3 separate regions of the Homo sapiens genome follow, and regions 2 and 3 are each linked to region 1. Evidence: promoter capture Hi-C in 16 types of primary human blood cells and fetal thymus (Javierre and others, 2016). All regions are on one chromosome and are shown on one strand. Each heading gives the region's core, a stretch centred on a gene start or on the middle of the fragment in contact. The rest is flanking DNA. Distances are from core to core; before and after follow the strand shown. Region 1 holds the start of TLX3 (T cell leukemia homeobox 3). Region 2 overlaps KCNIP1 (potassium voltage-gated channel interacting protein 1). Region 3 holds the start of LOC107986474 (a long non-coding RNA gene).

Region 1 (2,744 bases), core at 108-2,607:
GCATGCATGCATTATTTTCCTTTTTTGCAAACGAGAAAACCGAAATCTAAATATATAGAGTCAATTTCTCAAGGTCACTCAGCGAGGAAATGGCCAGTCCAAATTTGAACACACTTCTGGCCAACAACAGCACATCCGAGCTCTCACCACTGTCCACACCACAAGGAGCGGGAGGAAGAACCCAGGCCAGGGGTGCGACACTCAAAGAGTTTGCACCTAACGATTTTAGAATTCGCTGGAAGAAAATGATTCCGCTTGTCTCCCCAAAGCTGCAGCGGAAGGTGACTACTTCGTGTGCGGTCCTGTCCACGGTGCCCTGGGCCGGGTAGACAGTCACTGAGGCGCGAGCAGAACGGGGAGTGGTTCCAGCGCCCAAAGTGGACTGGAGCCGGGAAGGGCTCACCAGTCGCGTTTCCCAAAGAAATCCCGCAATTTGCTCTAGGAGCTGCCCGCGCCTTTGACATTCAGGAACCCGAAGTCCCTAGACCCGCCGAGCCGCGAGCGGGTTCCCACGCGCGACCACAGCCCCCTTCCATCCTGCAACGAATTACGAGAGTCAGGTCCCCGCTCCCCACCGGGCGACCCCGCGTCCCTAGCCCAGCCGCAGCTGGCACGCGTGGGCACCTGCGAGTCACGCCTCGGTCCGCCTGGCCGGAGCCAGGGAGTGTCTCCAAAGTGGCCGCGAGGCCGCGGCCGAAACCCGGGCGGGGGCGAATTCTCCCCACGCGGGTCGGCGTCATCCGGGGCGCGGAGAACGCTACGGTGCTCCCCTCGCCCCGCGCGCAGGCAGCGCGAAGCCTGCCCCGGGTAGTGCGCCCCTTTCGTTCCTCCGGCGGCGGTAGCGTCCAAGGGGCTTCTGCGGATTCCGCCGGGTCGTCCCGGGGTTGCAACTCCATTGTACCTGAAAGGATGCATTTGGTTTGGCTTTTGCTCAGATGAAAAAAAAAAAAAATTGGAAGAAAACGAAAACCCACTCAGCAAAAGACAATTTCACAAGCGGAGCGCTCTACCCACCCAGCGCGGTGTCTGGGAAGCGGCCCGGCCCGGAGGAGCGGGGAGCGTCTGCTAATTGCAGCTTCGTTAGATTTCGGGTTTGGGAGGCTGTGGTTCGGGCTCTAATATCCGCCGCCCATTATCCCTGCTAATAAATTTGACCTATTGTTCGTTTGTTAAAATGATGTCACCTTGGAACAGTCCCTAAGCTCCTATTTCCATGAATTAGGCCTTTATTGAAAGCCGGGAGCCAATGAGAGGAGAGAGGCTTGTTGATCGCAGCCAATGGCTGCGGCAGGAGAGGAATTAGCAGCGGAAACTCCAGGTTCGGTTCAAGAAAGATGACACAGAGCCTGTCGGGCCCGCGCACTCTTGGCAAAGTTTCAGTGCGACGAGAGGCGCCGGGCGCTCCATGGCCGCGCCGTAACGGGGACCCAGCCGCCTCCCCGCCCAGCCCAGCCCAGCCCTTCCGCCCGCCCAGGATGGAGGCGCCCGCCAGCGCGCAGACCCCGCACCCGCACGAGCCCATCAGCTTCGGCATCGACCAGATCCTTAACAGCCCGGACCAGGACAGCGCACCCGCCCCGCGGGGCCCCGACGGCGCCAGCTACCTGGGAGGGCCCCCCGGGGGCCGTCCGGGCGCCACATACCCGTCTCTGCCCGCCTCCTTTGCGGGCCTCGGCGCGCCCTTCGAGGACGCGGGATCTTACAGTGTGAACCTGAGCCTAGCGCCCGCAGGCGTGATCCGGGTGCCGGCGCACAGGCCGCTGCCCGGGGCCGTGCCACCGCCTCTGCCAAGCGCGCTACCCGCCATGCCCTCCGTGCCCACGGTCTCCAGCCTTGGCGGTCTCAATTTCCCCTGGATGGAGAGCAGCCGCCGCTTCGTGAAAGACCGCTTCACAGGTGAGCAGAGCTGGCGACCAGGCTCCAGGCCTCCGCCCTCTCGGGGCCAGAGGCGCCGCGCCCTGTGCGCTCCACTCCCGGAAACCATTTCAGAGGCCCAAGCGCGGCGGAGGCCTCGGCCCCAGGGCCCCGGGCAGCCGTGGTGGGGAGGGTAATCGGAGAGTTGCAGGAAAATAAGCCCGTGCCCGGGGGAAGGGACAGGGGGCGAGGGGGTCTCCCGACCGGCTTGGTGTCTCTGGAAACGCGCGCGACCAGCGAAATAGCGGAGCTCTCCGTGTCCCACGGGGCGCCACGGGGTCCGCATGGGGCCTGAACGGTGGCGGAGCCGGGCTGGGCTTCAGGGGCCCTCCTGTGTCTCCGCAGCGGCGGCCGCACTCACGCCCTTCACCGTGACCCGGCGCATCGGCCACCCCTACCAGAACCGGACGCCGCCCAAGCGTAAGAAGCCGCGCACGTCCTTTTCCCGGGTGCAGATCTGCGAGCTGGAAAAGCGCTTCCATCGCCAGAAGTACCTGGCCTCTGCCGAGAGGGCGGCGCTCGCCAAGTCCCTCAAAATGACGGACGCGCAGGTCAAGACCTGGTTCCAAAACCGGAGGACCAAGTGGCGGTGAGAGAGGCCTGACCCGGCCCACCTTACACCTGCCCTTCACCTGTCCCGCCCCGAGCCGCAGCCTCGCACTAGCCCTATTTTAAGGCTATCCACTACCCCCGCCCCCCTCTGCCTCCCCCAAACACACCCCCACCCCGCCTTCGCAGATTGTACCTCTTCCTTTCACCCTTCTCGCTGGCCTGTGCTTCTCTCTCCATCGTGGTCTCCCACGCCTTGGTTTCTCCTCCATCCCCATCCC
Region 2 (2,744 bases), core at 127-2,626, 620 kb before region 1:
AGTTCCAAGGAGGATGAGAAATAGCAGCCTTGACCTCCCACCAGCGGGAGTTTCCCTCCTTCATCCCTGGTCACTGGCCACACAAGGACCTGGCATCTCCCAGTAAATGTGTTCCTCTGCAACCTGAGCCACAAACCTCTCTCTCTTTTATCTCTTTCCTCTTTCTACCTTCATATTTGGTTGGCTATTTTTAGTTCTTCTGCAGATATAGTTACACTTTAAATGACACACAGCCTTTAATTACTTACATGTTGACTTGAAGCAATGTCTGTTGCTCACCTTCTTGGAAATATCAGAAGACAAGAACACTTTTACTTCCTCCTCCTTCTCCCATCCTTCTCTCTGTCTACTTAATCTGTTTATCATATTCTCATTTTTACACCATCAAGGTTTATAATGCTCCCAGAACATACCTCCTTCAAGGTAAATGGGAATGGTAACCTTTGGCCTCTCCTTGCCCATAAGGACAACCCAGTCTCCTGCTCTGCGTGGGTTCCCAATTTGGCCCTAAGACTTTTCTGTTTGTATGATCAGCAAAAGGACATCAAATACTTTCCATCCTCCAATGAGCAGAACACATTCTGTGGTCAGAAGCCTTCTCATTACTTCTGATCTCAAAGGGACATCCAGAGTTGCCCAAACCCAGGCCAACCACCCTTCCATTTAGCCACAGCCTGAAGATCCCAACTATGATCAACAAATAAGACTGACTCCAGATCCCACTCTGCCAACTGCCTACCTAATACCCAGACTCTTGCAGCTGAGAGAGTCTCTTCTAAAATCCAGCCCAAAAGGCACACTAGATGTGAGGACCAGAATATCTTGTATTTTGTAGTCTATTATAGCAAGCATAATAAACTTATTTGTTTGAGACCGAGTCTCACTCTGTCGCCCAGGCTGAAGTACAGTGGCACGATCTCAGCTCACTGAAACCTCTGCCTCCCGGGTTTAAGCGATTCTACTGCCTCAGCCTCCTGAGTAGCTGGGATTACAGGCATGTGCCACCGTGCCTGGCTAATTTTTGTATTTTTAGTTGAGACATGGCTTCCCCATGTTGACCAGGCTAGCCTCGAACTCCTGACCTCAGGTGATCCACCCACCTCGGCCTCCCAAAGTGCTGGGATTACAGGTGTGAGCCACTGCCCAGCCGATAAACTTTAAAATTACTTTTTCTATTCCATATCATAGATTCTGGGAGGAAACAAGGCCCAATTTGAGTAAAAGCAACTGCATTTAGCTGGCTTGAACTTCTTCAGAGAAAGAACAACATAAAATATTCAGCTCATCTGATTTTTTAATGACATTTCCTTTTTATTTATATTCAATTACACAAGTAATACATGAACAGATTCTCCCTTTTTTAAACCATCCCTTATTCTACAGATCAGGTGAAAGTACTTGTTGCTGGCCTGTACTTCCCATCCCCACTTTTGTCCCCAGGACAAAGTACTATCAGGATACTAGCATTCAGAGTGAGCAGATTCCTAGTACTGACATAAGGAGGATCACCATCTAATTTTTAAATTTTAAAAAATGAACACAAAGTCTATTAGAGGAATGAAATGAACCTGCTTTGTAGGTACATAATATTTCTCTCTCCAGAGAGAAAGGAGGAGAGCACACATAAGATAGGAAGATGAGAGCTACAATAAATGAGAGAAGAGAGAAACTGTCAGAAATAGCAGGGCAGAAAGAGGGAAAGAGGTGAGAATGAGAGAGAGGGGGAGGGAGGAACAGAGGAAGATGCGAACAAGGAGAGTCACTCAGTTCTGAGGCAAGCACTTGATTCTCCGTGGTTCATTTGGGTATCCAAGTAAGTTATTTCCTATAATCATTGGCCTTTAGGAGTCTGCTTAGCTAATTAACAGTTTGCAAATTGCCAATTGTTTTTTGTCCCGCATTCTCCAGAGACTTTACACTGCAAAGGCAGACCACAGCAGCCCACCTTACACTTGAGTTGTGGCCAAAGCACCATCCCCACCAGACAAAGCCAGCCCCACAGCTGACCCCGGCCTGTGAGTGTCTGAAAACTGGCTGTAAAGAACATTCTGTCTAGTTACTTCCTCAGTAAACTCTGGGGCTGGGCACTGGAGGTTTTCTGAAAGGAAGTGTTTGGTGTCTCACACAGCCATGTGCTTAGTATATTCCATGCAGCACTCCACTGAGCCAGTGCCCTTGAAATGAGCAAGCACTGCAGCCATCCTCCTTTATTTCCCTCAAGGCAATATCCAAGGATTAAAAAGTCAGAGCCGTCTGCAGATTCCTCCTCTCTACCTTGCCCTGCACTTTTTGTGCCCTTCCTCTTCCCCCTCTCCAGCCCCAAACCTCTCTCCTGATCCACGGTACTCCTCCTGGGATGTCCACTGGGGCTGATCCTCCCCCATTCTCCCCCTGAGTTCCCTGCTGTTAATCTGTCTCCAGCAAAATTAACCTAGCCTATGTCCCATGCCCTCTGGACTCTGGCTGCTCGTCAATCACTCTTAAAAATCCGGTTTCTCCTTAGGCAATCATTTTGTTTTGATTTTATGTGTAAAAAAACCTGAGTAAATTTTTTTTTTTTTTGAGATGGAGTCTTGCTCTGTTGCCCAGGCTAGAGTACAGTGGCATGATTTCTGCTCACTGCAACCTCCGCCTCCCGGGTTCAAGCGATTCTCCTGCCTCAGCCTCTTGAGTAGCTGGGACTACAGGTGCCCACCACCATGCCTGGCTAATTTTTGTATTTTTGGTAGAGACAGGGTTTCATC
Region 3 (2,744 bases), core at 140-2,639, 560 kb before region 1:
TAATGTTAAATGACAAATGTCATAGAGCCAGCCACGAGTCTTTCTAACTTTGTTGTGGCCATAAATGACAGACATGTGCAATCAAGTCCCCAGGTCAACAGAGGGACAGATTGCTGGCAGAACCACCCTCAGCAGGTTAATAAGTTGACCTGAAAGCTGCCAGGGCAGTTTGGAACGTTTGCGATGAGGAACTTGTATTTAGTTTTTATAAGTTGTCACATAATCGCTTAGGGCGGCTCTTAAAATATGTCCAAACAAGGAGACAGTGAATAGGTCTGGAATAACAGTCCCCCTTCTGTTTCAGAACTGACAGTTTCAGCCAATAGGGAGAGGTGAATGGTAATGAGGGAAGAATGGGCTTTTTAGACACACCTGGTATTGAACCCTGACTCATGATGTGCTAACTGAGACTGGGCAAGGTGTCTCAGCTGCCTTATCCGGCTTCCTCCTTGGCCGTAGAGTCAAAACACATCCTTTGCCCCATCCTTTGAGGGTTCTCACCAAGGGAAGGGAATAAACACAGGGCAAACACCTAGGAGGCTGACACCCAACAGGCATCGAGAAATGTTCATTTTCTTCCTCCCTCCTACCGTCACCCTAGCTCTAGCTCTCATATCTAGGAACTAGAACAGCTGTCTACCCCCTCTCCCAGGCTTTGCCCAGAGCCCAGATGGTTTCTAGGCAGACCCATAGGATTTAAGGTCTTGCTAACAATTAAAAGCCATGAATCTCTTCCCCTCTTCCCTGCTCTGTTCTGAGTCCTGTGTGTCTATAGCTCATCTCATCTTCCCCATAGCCCTGAAGTAGATAGGAAAGATGATCATGTCCACAACTCAGAAAGGGTGAAATTAAGGCAGAGAGGTGAAGACACTTGCCCCATGTCACCAGTGGAGTGAGCTGATGATGGAGCCAGCACTTGAACCCAAACCATCCATCTAGGTCCAAAGCACACTAGTAGCACCATGCTACTACTCTGCCTCCTGAGCCACAAGACAGTAAGGATTAGATGTCCATGCTCAAGCATTGTAAGCAAAAGTAGCTAAGTAGAGAGGGTGAGGAGTCCAACAGGCTCAAGAAGGAGAGCAGATGCCAGCTGTGCTCGCTCAGAAATCGGAAACGCAGCTTGCAGCCTTTAGTGATAGAGCTGTACGCTTGAGGGGCTTCTTCCCAGAGAGAGGTCTGGGAGTCAGAAACACAGAGTGCAGTGTCCCCTGCTGAGTCAAACAGAGGCCAGACCAGGGGACACATCAGAGAAACGGCCCAGGAAAGGCTGGGACAGGCTCAGGACTCGCCCAGAGGTACTGCGCCCTGAGTAAACCTGTTTATTCTTTCAGAATAAGCTGGTGTCGGATGGAAAGGTCAATATTATTTAGTATTATTATTAGTTATTCTGGAATAACTACTTATATTTCTTATGTATTTTCCAGGTATTTCACATGCATTCTCTCATTTAAGACCCACGGCAACTCAGCAACATATTATCCCCTTTTACAGATGAGAAAGGGCTCATTGAGGCAAAGGGATTTATTTATTCAAGTTTACATGGCTGCCTGTGGCAGGGTTGGGTGAACCAGGGCTGCTCTGCCTCTGTGCCTGCTATGCCAAGTGAGAATAGGGTACTCATCCCAGGATCATCTTTGCAGGCATCCAGCTGTTTCCCGTGCCCACCTGCCCCCTCATTAGGTTCTGTAAGATCACCGTCCTGACCCCCAGGAGCACACTCACCCATGGGGTCAGGCTGCTATTAGAAATTCCTTCCAGAGATGCCAGGTGAGAGGGAGGCAGGCAGACAGACATCTGTGGGGGTCACATTCACCCCAGACAGTTCATTGCCGGAAGGAAGCCACATGCCTCACGTCGAAGCTCATCTGATTGGAGTCAGACACAGCCAGATACAGTCATGATTGTGTCCAGAGGCCCACGGGGGCTGGCGGGGCCCTTCACGACAGCTGCTACGGCACAGCCCATCTGGAAGGGCTCTTTTTGTTCAACGCTTTAACCCTCTGAGGACCCTCGGGACCAAGGGATGCCACACCCTGGGTGAGAGAGATACTCAAGGAGGAGGGTCCCTCTACAGAGGATGAGTTAGGACACCCGGGACGGGCCCACATTTTCCTCCCCACTCTGCTTCCCAGGTAGATTGAGGGTAGGAGGAGGCCCACATTCCACAGAGGAGAGACTGTGAGCCTCTTGAGTTTTAAGAATCTGTGAAGGAACACCCCCAAACACCTACCATGCACCCCCAAGCAAGTAAAGGGGCTCCCTGAGTTCCAGCAGCTTGAGTAAAGGCCCAGAAAGTGACCCTGTGAGGCTCATGGAGAAGGGAATGTTGAGGGCCCAGCCTGCACTGGGTGGGCAGCGCCCTGCCCCAACTTCCCGCAGGTTCCCAGGAAATGAACAAAAGGCTCCCTCAGCTCACTCGTTGGCAGATGTCTCTGACCTGAGGCCATTCATCAACTCTCACTCAGGCACTCAGCCCCCCAGACAGCCTGGAGGTGTTGGCAGCACACCAGAGAGACTTTCAGCCAAAGACAGGTCTGGTTTCCCTGAAGAAAAAGAAACCTGAACTGGCTGCCTTCCCAGAGCGTCTGCTTGGGGGACCCACCCAAGTAAACAAAGCTGTTAAATGGGGGCATGTGGGCCAAAGCCCGCTGCACTAGAAGCTCCCGCTGCAGCAGTGCTGCCCTGCCCCAGGCACCACTCTAGCAAGAGAGAGCCTCTCACCACCGTGGGGCCTGACCCTG

What was found. The method cuts DNA at HindIII sites, captures the fragments that hold promoters and counts their contacts. A CHiCAGO score of 5 or more calls a contact.
Region 2: a contact is called between a fragment that was not itself captured here and the fragment with the promoter of TLX3 in region 1, in 1 of 17 cell types (M1 macrophages). The highest score is 5.2, in M1 macrophages.
Region 3: a contact is called between a fragment that was not itself captured here and the fragment with the promoter of TLX3 in region 1, in 1 of 17 cell types (M0 macrophages). The highest score is 6.6, in M0 macrophages.

The regions. Positions count from the first base shown.
Region 1 is chr5:171,307,891-171,310,634 of GRCh38, forward strand. TLX3 (T cell leukemia homeobox 3) reads left to right here and starts at 1,358. Exons shown (of 3, transcript NM_021025.4): 1 at 1,358-1,896; 2 at 2,260-2,503. The coding sequence starts at 1,476. RefSeq lists enhancers at 1-849, 850-1,735, 1,736-2,620, 2,621-2,744. The HindIII fragment of the contact is 15,951 bases long and covers 1-2,744 here.
Region 2 is chr5:170,684,638-170,687,381 of GRCh38, forward strand. The region is part of intron 1 of KCNIP1 (potassium voltage-gated channel interacting protein 1); the gene reads left to right. Among named protein-coding and RNA genes, the nearest start is that of KCNIP1-AS1, 4.5 kb to the left of the region's middle. The HindIII fragment of the contact is 6,169 bases long and covers 1-2,744 here.
Region 3 is chr5:170,749,890-170,752,633 of GRCh38, forward strand. All of the region lies in intron 1 of LOC107986473 (a long non-coding RNA gene), which reads right to left. LOC107986474 (a long non-coding RNA gene) reads right to left here and starts at 2,517. Exons shown (of 2, transcript XR_001742977.2): 1 at 2,234-2,517; 2 at 1,510-1,868. RefSeq lists enhancers at 1,323-2,207, 2,208-2,744. The HindIII fragment of the contact is 3,196 bases long and covers 1-2,744 here.